2 separate regions of the Homo sapiens genome follow, and region 1 is linked to region 2. Evidence: promoter capture Hi-C in 16 types of primary human blood cells and fetal thymus (Javierre and others, 2016). All regions are on one chromosome and are shown on one strand. The core of a region is centred on a gene start or on the middle of the fragment in contact, and the rest is flanking DNA. Distances in the headings are between cores, read along the strand shown. Region 1 overlaps MYO7B (myosin VIIB). Region 2 holds the start of WDR33 (WD repeat domain 33).

The links. The method cuts DNA at HindIII sites, captures the fragments that hold promoters and counts their contacts. A CHiCAGO score of 5 or more calls a contact.
Region 1: a fragment that was not itself captured here is called in contact with the fragment with the promoter of WDR33 in region 2 in 5 of 17 cell types (naive B cells, total B cells, naive CD8 T cells and 2 more); the score reaches 8.8 in naive B cells.

Annotation. Positions count from the first base shown.
Region 1 is chr2:127,588,744-127,593,315 of GRCh38, forward strand. It overlaps MYO7B (myosin VIIB), which reads left to right. Exons shown (of 48, transcript NM_001393586.1): 16 at 1,349-1,486; 17 at 4,051-4,203. Among named protein-coding and RNA genes, the nearest start is that of MYO7B-AS1, 40 kb to the right of the region's middle. The HindIII fragment of the contact is 8,153 bases long and covers 1-4,572 here.
Region 2 is chr2:127,807,601-127,812,489 of GRCh38, forward strand. It overlaps WDR33 (WD repeat domain 33), which reads right to left and starts at 3,571. Exons shown (of 22, transcript NM_018383.5): 1 at 3,412-3,571. It overlaps LOC124907885 (a long non-coding RNA gene), which reads left to right and starts at 3,651. Exons shown (of 2, transcript XR_007087230.1): 1 at 3,651-4,543. RefSeq lists enhancers at 1,646-2,553, 2,636-3,576, 2,983-3,062, 3,143-3,222, 3,243-3,532 and 1 more. The HindIII fragment of the contact is 7,008 bases long and covers 1,515-4,889 here.

The DNA of each region.
Region 1 (4,572 bases), core at 137-2,636, 220 kb before region 2:
GGTAGTGGGTGGGTGGATGGGTGAGTGGATGGATGGGTGGTGGGTGGGTGGATGGATGGGTGGGTGGATGGATGGGTGGGTGAGTGGATGGGTGGATGGGTGTGTGAGGGTGGATGGGTAAATGGATGTGTGGTTGGTTGGTTGGATGGATGGATGGATGAGTGGATGGATGGGTGAGTGGATGGACGGGTGAATGGGTGGTTGGGTGGATAGATGGGTGAGTGGGTGGATGGGTAGTGGATGGGTGGATGGATGGGTGAGTGAGTGGATGGGTGGTGGGTGGGTGGATGGATGGGTGGGTGAGTGGATGGGTGGATGGGTATGTAAGTGGATGGGTGAATGGGTGTGTCGATGGTTGGGTGGATGGGTGAGTGGGTGAATGGATAGATGGATGGGTGGGTGGCTGTGTGGATGGGTGAGTGGATGGACGGGTGGGTGGGTGGATGGGTGAATGGATGGGTGGATGGGTGAGTGGGTGGATGGATAGATGGACGGGCAGGTGGCTGTGTGGGTGGGTGAGTGGATGGATGGGTGGGTGGATGGGTGGGTGGGTGGATGGATAGATGGATGGGTGGGTGGCTGTGTGGATGGGTGAGTGGATGGATGGATGGGTGGGTGGAATGGTGAATGAATGGGTGCATGGGTGGGTGCATGTGGCAGCTTATATAAGGGGGTTTGGAGTGGGAATGGGAATCTGGGGGGTCCAGAGTTTAGATAGGAGAAGTGACTTTGTGCTGGGTAGATGGTGGGGGCCACGCCTGGGTAGAGGGGTGGAGAGCATGGCCTTAGTGGGGCCATGGGTGGATGGGTGAGTGGGTGGATGGGTGGTGAGTAGGTGGATGGATGGGTGAGTGGGTGGATGGGTGGTGCGTGGGTGGATGGATGAGTGGGTGCATGGGTGAATGGATGGGTGAATGGGTGGGTGGATGGGTGGGTGGGTGGATGGGTGAGAGGGTGGATGGATAGATGGATGGGCGGGTGGCTATGTGGGTTGGTGAGTGGATGGAAGGATGGATGGGTGGGTGGGTGGGTGAATGGATGGACGCATGGGTGGGTGGGTGGATGGGTGCTGGGTAGGTGGAAGGATGGGTGAGTGGGTGGATGGGTGGTGGGCGGGTGGATGGGTGGGTGGGTGGATGGATAGGTGTGTGAGTGGATGGGTGAAGGGGTGGGTGGATGGGTGAGTGGGTGGATGGATACATGGATGGGTGGGTGGGTGGATTCTTGAATAGGTAGATGCACCACCCCACCTGTGGGGCCTTGGCCGCAACCCTTGCTGGCCTACAGGGTCAGCTGTCCCAGGACATGGCTCCTGAGACCCACTTGTGCTCTGTGCTTCCATTCACAGTCTGCAGACTCAAATAAACGGCCCTCCACCTTAGGAAGCCAGTTCAAACAGTCTCTGGACCAGCTGATGAAAATCCTGACCAACTGCCAGCCTTACTTCATCCGCTGCATCAAACCTAATGAGTACAAGAAGCCGCTGGTAATGACAGGAGGCTGGGGCACAGCAAAGGAGGGAGGAGGAGGAGGCTGATGGCCTCTAGGGTTGTGGTCACTCCCTCTGCCAGGGCCTGGCTAGCGTTAGAGCTGTTACTGCCCCTACCTTACAGATAAGTACACTGGGGTAAGGTGACCAGACTAGGTCATGTGAAGGTCAGTGACCTGCAGAGCTTTGGGTTGCTGAGACCTCAGTTCCCTTAGCTCCGCCATGCATCTTCTGTGCGTTCTTGGCCTGGCTCTTTGCTGCTGTGAGCCTCAGTTTTCCCTTCTGTTAAGTCAGACTTGCTCCTGCCTGCAGGAATGCACTGAGGGTTGGACATGAGGTTTGCAGTACATGTCCCATATGTAAACCACACTCAACAAAGGCAGAAATCAGTAATAGGACTTTAGAGGCTGACACCACTCCTTTCACCAGCCCTGCAGACAGTCAGCTTTACCTGCTGTGAGACGGTGAGGGGGTGAGAGCCCACACTCCCTGCCCACAACGGAGTCCCTGCTCCATTGGGTGGGGAGTCCCACCCAGAGGCCGCATATGCAGGGATTCCCCAAACTAGGAGACATCAGCTGAAACAATATAAAATGGTTTTATCCCCATAAGGGAATAAAAATATTACATGAAATTAAATGCTTTTTGGAAAGAATAAAACTATGTGAAATCGAGTTTGATCTGGGTGCAGTAGCTCACGCTTGTAATCCCAGCACTTTGGGAGGCTGAGGCGGGAGGATTGCTTGAGGCAAGCCTGGGCAACATAGTAAGACCTTATCTCTGCAAAAAAATTTAAAAGTATAAAAATTAGCTAGGTATGGTGGTATGTGCCTGTAGTCTCAGCTACTCAGGAGGCTGAGGGAGGAGGATCACTTGAGCCCAGGAGGTCAAGGCTGCAGTGAACTATGATCACACCACTGCACTTCAGCCTGGGTGACAGAGCAAGACCTGTCTCTAAAAAAATAAAATGAGGCTTGCCTTATGAAATCTAGGTTGCATCTTCCTTGAAGGCAAAATAGGCAGATGTGAGATAACCTATCTTGTTCCTTAACTGCTGGGAGAAGTAGCTGGGCTCCCAGAGACCCTTGGCTCGTTCAGACCCTGCCTACCTTGGGAGCTGGGAGTTGCAGGACAGGCAGGCAGGCCTGAGGCTGAAGCTCGGGGGTTAAGAGTGCCTCTGGCTGGGATATCTCTCATTGGTGGCTGCTCAGGGTTCAAACCCAGGCTCAGCCCCTTAGAAGCAAAACCCTATGCCTCAGCACCTCATCTTTAAGTTGGAGCCAATCACCCCCACCAGGTAGGAATGTTGTAAAGATTCAGTGAGAAACACCAGGCCCATAGGAAATCGTCAGTGAAGCGCAGCTAAACACTTACCCGAGGCTAAGCTCAGTGTGGCCTGGACCCCACCAGCAGTTGGCGCTGTGACCCTGCAGGTGGGGTAACAGTGCCTGCTGGTGGGTTTGCCACATCAGAGGGCGTTCCCCAGGGTCCCTCAGAGACTCCTGGCTTGTAGGTGGAGAGGGGCTCTCTAGAATCCAAGCCATGGCAGAGTCTTGGAACCCCTGCTGAAGCCTGACACCCCAGGGAAGGACATCATGCCATTTCTCTGCCAGTCACACTCGCCTCAAAGCAAAAGACGGCTCAGCTCCCTGGGGCCAAAGGCCCTCCACTCCTCCGCCCCAGCCACTCCAGGTCTCACTCTGACCTCCATCTCCAGGGAGGGAGAGACTAAGTTGATTAGGATATTTTCTGCCTCTGAGTAGATTTATTTTTTCATTTAACTATTGTGAGGGAGGCACCATGAAACTGCAAGTGCCTGCGGGGCAGCTTTCCACCCCGACCTATGTAGGCAAGGGGCGCTTAAAAACATTTTAAACTGGGCCAGGCGCGGTGGCTCAGGCCTGTAATCCCAGCACTCTGGGACGCCAAGGCGGGCGGATCATTTGAGCTCAGGAGTTGGAGACCAGCCTGGCCAACATGGTGAAACTCCGTCTTTAACTAAAAATACAAAACTTACCCGGGCGTGGTGCTACACGCCTGTAATCCCAGCTACTCGGGAGGCTGAGGCAGGAGAATCGCTTGCACCCAGGAGGCAGAGGTTGCAGTGAGCAGAGATCGTGCCACTGCACTCCAGCCTGAGCGACAGAACGAGACTCCATCTCAAAAAAATAAATAAATAAAATTTAAAAAATTTTTTTAAAAAAAGCATTTTAAACTGGGCATGTGCAGAGGACGTTTACATTCACAGCGCTTCGAGTAGTTGACAGTGATGGGAGTGCTGTGTTTCTGTGGGTGCCACAGTTTCCATGCTATCGACTTTTATCTCCTTGACAACATTACGGGTTTTTCAACTACTTGCACTACTCTCTTCAAAATGTAGCCTTACTGAAGTCGCATTTGTTTAGTTCTTCCATCTCTGGAGGACAGTGGGGGTGGGCGGGGCGGGGGGCTGGACACACTGACCTCTGGCTGTGGGCCCGTGCCCGGTGGTGGGGTGCCGGGAAGGGGGGTGGCTGGAAAGTGGGGCTTGCGCTGGGTCAGCGCCCGGTGTCCGCCCACAGCTGTTCGACCGGGAGCTGTGCCTGCGGCAGCTGCGATACTCGGGCATGATGGAGACCGTGCACATCCGCAAGTCGGGCTTCCCCATCCGCTACACGTTCGAGGAGTTCTCGCAGAGGTTCGGCGTGTTGCTGCCCAACGCCATGCGGATGCAGGTCAGCGCCCCTCGGGGACGGTCACCTCTGGCCATCCGCGGCCTTCCCCTCGGCCTTGGCACCTCCAGCCCCCAGTACCGAGGGGGTCTCCCGCTGCCCTCCCCGGCCCCAGCCTTGCGATGAGCCCTGTCCTTCCTCCCTCTCTCCTCCTCCCACCCTACCCTCTCCCTCTCCCAGCGCCGCGGAAGTGAGGGGGCTTTCCCTGGGGTCTGGGAGAGCTGGCGGCCGCAGCGGTTCCTTCTGGAACATGTCTGTAGTTGTACAGCAGACACGTTCTCTCCTACCGCGTCAGGGAGCCGAGGTGTGGCTAGAAAGCTACTGGGGCCCGAGGTTCTTCCTGTCCTGTCTGGAACCCTCAGCCATCCTGAG
Region 2 (4,889 bases), core at 2,321-4,820:
GATTTAGCTGGATTTTAAGGACTGAACAGAATAGGAATAGTGTGAAAGGAAGGAGAATACAATCTAGGCAAAGAGTTAATAAGCAACAGCCAAAGATCAGAAATAAACCAAGTCATGAGGGGAATTTTTGTAGAAAATTCATTCTTCAATTTGTATAATGCCTAGGTTTTAGGAATACAAAAATATAAGGTACTATAGCACGTCTTCAACGTGCTCACAAAGAGCTGGCAGCAGGGACTCATGACTCCCAAGACTTTGAAAGGCTGAAGTGGGAGGATCGCTTGAGCCTAGGAATTAGAGGCTACAGTGAGCCATGATCATGCCACTGTATTCCAGCCTGGGTGACAAAGTGAGACCCTGTCTCAGAAAACAAACAAACAAACTAAAAACCAAAGTATTCACAAGTAGTGGAGAAGGTATAGTCAAAATACATTAAAGATATATACAAAATGCTTTAATAGCAGAGAAAGGAGTGATTAACTTATCAGAGGAATGAGATTGTCAGTAAATTTCAACAAAGATATTTGAGTTAATGTTTAAAACTGAAAATGATGTCACCAATTAAATTCATCACAGAAAGAAAAAAAATGTTAACATTTAAAGAATGCCTACTATATATGAGGCACTTTTTACCTTTAGGTTTTATAGTTAACATTCTTATATACAAAGAAACTGAAGCTTAGAGAGTTTAATTAACTGACCCAATATAAAAAAGGTAGTTAATGGTGAGCCTGGCATTCAAACCTAGGTCCATTTGCTGCTGAAACCCATACATGCCCTTTCCAATACTACCTAGCTCTGGGAATTTATAAGCACACAAATCATGAGTACAAGATACAATACAACTTTAGAAAGTCAGTCACTACCAGAAAATTAGTAAAATGTTTAAGGGCCAGACAGATGAGAGTAGCACTGCTCAGATTTTCCAATACACTGAAGAGCTTCAGTCTCTAGGACTAATGTAAATGGTTTGAAATGGGGAGATAAATGTTACCAAAGAAAAATCATTTTCAGCAGAGCGCGGTGGCTCATGCCTGTAATCCCAGCACTTTGGGAGGCCCAGACAGGTGGATCATTTGAGGTCAGGAGTTTGAGACCAGCCTGGCCAACATGGTGAAACCCCGCCTCTACTAAAAAATACAAAAATTGGCCAGGTGCGGTGGCTCACGCCTGTAATCCCAGCACTTTGGGAGGCCGAGATGGGCGGATCACGAGGTCAGGAGATCGAGACCATCCTAGCTAACACGGTGAAATCCCGTCTCTACTAAAAATACAAAAAATTAGCCGGACGCGGTGGCGGGCGCCTATAGTCCCAGCTACTCGGGAGGCTCAGGCAGGAGAATGGCGTGAACCCGGGAGGCGGAGCTTGCAGCGAGCCAAAGATCGCGCCACTGCACTCCAGCCTGGGCGACAGAGCGAAACTCTTGTCTCAAAAAAAAAAAAAAAAAAAAAAGAATTCCAGAAACACATTTATAAGTGAAAATTTTTCACTAATATCTTTGTCGTAATCATAAAGCTTTTCTGTAACCTTACTATCCTATTCTGAAATATGAAGCAGTTCAAACTTCAGCCATAATCAAATAATATTCCACCGCAAAGTAATGGGAAAAGTATATGAACTTATTACTTAGCAAAGAGAGCTCTGAATAAATACCTTAAGTGCTTAGTAAAAATATAATTAAAGCCTTACGTCAATATAAAACCGTGATGGCAAAATCTGTTTAGTATTTTTCACCAACCAAAGAAAATTATCCAAGTTAAGCCATCAGCTTCACAGATAAACATTTATTTTTGTCTAAACCATTGTAATATATGTAAGCCAAATTCCTTTTTTTTTTTTTTTTTTTTTTTTTGAGACGGAGTCTCGCTCTGTTGCCCAGGCTAGAGTGCAATGGCGCGATCTTGGCTCACTGCAACCTCTGCCTCCGGGGTTCAAGTGATTCTCTTGCCTCAGCCTCCCGAGTAGCTGGGATTACAGGCGCCCACCACCACACCCAGCTAATTTTTGTATTTTTAGTAGAGACGGGGTTCCGCCATGTTGGTCAGGCTGGTCTCGAACTCCTGACCTCAGGTGATCCGCCCACCCTGGCGTCCCAAAGTGCTGGGATTACAGGCGTGAGCCACCGCGCCCGGCCATAAGCCAACTTTCTACCAAAATTCTTCCTAGGAGTACAGGAAAGACAAGTTAAAATTTCTCCCCAAGTTTCAAGAAGATAGTCTAAATATGGAACTTCAAGTCTCAGCAAAAACTCAAATCTATACAATATTTTATCTTCTCCCGGTCAAGGAGACAAAAAAAGCAAAAGTATCTTACAGTAATAAAAAATGGGTAAAATGCAATTAAGGCGAGGAAATGAAAAATGCCACAAGAGGTACAACTAGCATAACTGTCACTAAAAGGTTTGAATTAAGTAGGTTTACCACTGCACCATATTCACAGGCTATATATACATACACACACACATATATACACATATATATGTATATATAGCATGCATTAGCTCTCCAGAGTGTACTAAAAAAGTAAAGTCTACGCTCCCCAGAGTTGTTCCTTTCAGTGCAGGCTTTTTGTTCATATTCTAATGTCTTCCAAAGTTCCTGAACAGTCAACTTAAGATCATGTGTGTAGAAACTACTTTAAAACATTCTTGACAGGCTTTCTACAAGTAGCCCGTATTTTTCTGATTTGATTTAAATAGATCCAATTACGGAATTCCCTACCGACCTGCCGCCGCCGCCTCCTCCTTACTCCGGAAGGGGCCACTAATCCCAAGGGTTACAACCAAGTACAAACATTCATTGTCATTTCTTTTAAGAAGGCATGCTAAGATCCTCACTACTTAGTTGCCAGAAGACAACTTAAAATCAGAAACAGGGATCTAGCACAAACCAAATAGAAATACAACTATTCCAAAAAAGCAGGGCTTTGCCTGTCAAGCTGTAGCCTCATCCTTATAATAAGCACCGATTTCAAGCCACGATAACATCACGGCTAAGTCTTCAGCTGTTTTGCAGATTTCACGTTAACTTCCCTTGACCCTTTCAACCAACTACTTCAACTCGGCCCACTTCTTTCCACTCCCGCCCCAAACCTCAGTTAAAATGCATTTCCCTCCAAACTTCACGTCTTAACTGTGGCCTGACTTACGTCTTCTCGTCGCCACCGCTCCCAGTCAGGGCCTTAGTTCTAACCATGGCCGCTTTTCCCGGTTGGCCTCCAGCCTCCAGCCCCCTCCCATAAGTCTCGAACCTGCCTCGAACAGCCGCCCCGAGGTCGATTCTCCCAGTTCCTCCAACCTGTGCCCAGGCGCCCGTCCAGGCCCCCAAAGCACGCAACGGCCGAGCCCGAAAATGGCGGAGAGTGCCGCTGCCTGCTGCAGGCGAGCAGTCCCGTGTCGCCGCCGCACTCACCGTCTGGCTTTGAGCAGAGCTCCTAAATGGCCAGCGAAGCGTTCGCCTTCAGAGCCAGAAATGTCTCTCTTGTTTGGTCTCCCCACCCCGATCCTCTCAATCCCGCTCCTCCAAAGGAGCAGCCGCCATCTTCCCCTATGGGCCACCGAACGCACGCTCTGGGGTCATCACGCACTGGCGGGACGGCGCTACGTCACGCGCGCCTGGACCGCGGGCCTCTGTGAGGTTCGATCTGCGCATGTGCCTAGGTGAGGTGCCGAGCCGCGAGACCCTGCAGAGCGCTTCCTTTGTTCCGGAGCGAGTAGGACGCGCTACCTCCTGGAGGAAAGAAGCGACTGCGTTTCGCAGTGCTGACTTTTTTTTACAGTGTGAGCTAACGTGTATGCTCTGAAAAACACCCCGTTTTCCAGTATGTGAATGAGTATATTTGTACGGGGCCAGTACGGCAGACATAGCGGGTCGTTGGACCGAGCCCACCGAGAGTGGATCTGTGGGAAGCCACTGTGGCACCTTGCTGAGTCTGTTCACCCGTGCAGCTAGCTGGTGGCAGCCCTGGCAGATCCCGGCACACAGTCAGGCTCCACGCCTTACCCGAGCCAGTTGTGCCTCTAGATTACGCCTCGCTTAAAGTCCAGCGACCAAGATAGAAAAACAGCCCCACGATGCAACCATTTTGGAAAACCGCTGCAGTTTCTGCCAAAGCTAAATGTACGCTTACCTTGTGACCCCAGAAATTTCACTTCAAGAGGAATGAGTGCATACGTCCACCAAAGGCATGTGCAAGAATGTCCATAGCACGTTTATTCGTAGTAGTAAAAAACTGGTAACCTAAATGTCCATCAGCAGTTGAGTGGCTAAATTGTGGTGTATCATACAGTGGATTTCTACAGAGAAATAGGAAGTTACGGATAAACGCAACAGCCTGAACGAATAGCAGCTACTGTTAACTTAGGCACAAAGAAGAGGACGCTGTATGATTCCATTTTGATGAGGTTCAAAATATAACTGCACAGCAAGTTGTTCTCCAGTATGAATCAGGAATCGTACCAGCCTGGGGAACATGGCGAGATCCCATCTTTGCGCGTCGGGGTGCGTTCCTGTGACCGCCTTCCTGTGATCGTTCCTGTGATGGGTACTTGGGAGACTGGGGTGGGAGGATCACTTGAGCCCAGGAGTTGGAGGGCGCAGTGAGCCAAGATCGTGCCAGTGCACTTAAGTCTTGGAAGCAGAGTAAGACCCTGTCTCAAAGAAGTCTTACTTTTGACTCCATAATCCCCTTCCAAAAATCTATTCTAAGGATAGCCTCAGAGATGTGAGTAAGATTTGTGTACTAATCTTTGAGGTATTAATGATAGCAAAAAAAAAAGGAAACAGTAGCAGACAGTGATTAAATAATGGCACATCCATACGTAGACTATCATGCAGACATTACACAGTATCTAAAGTTTTTATGATAACATCAGAAATGTTTATAAACT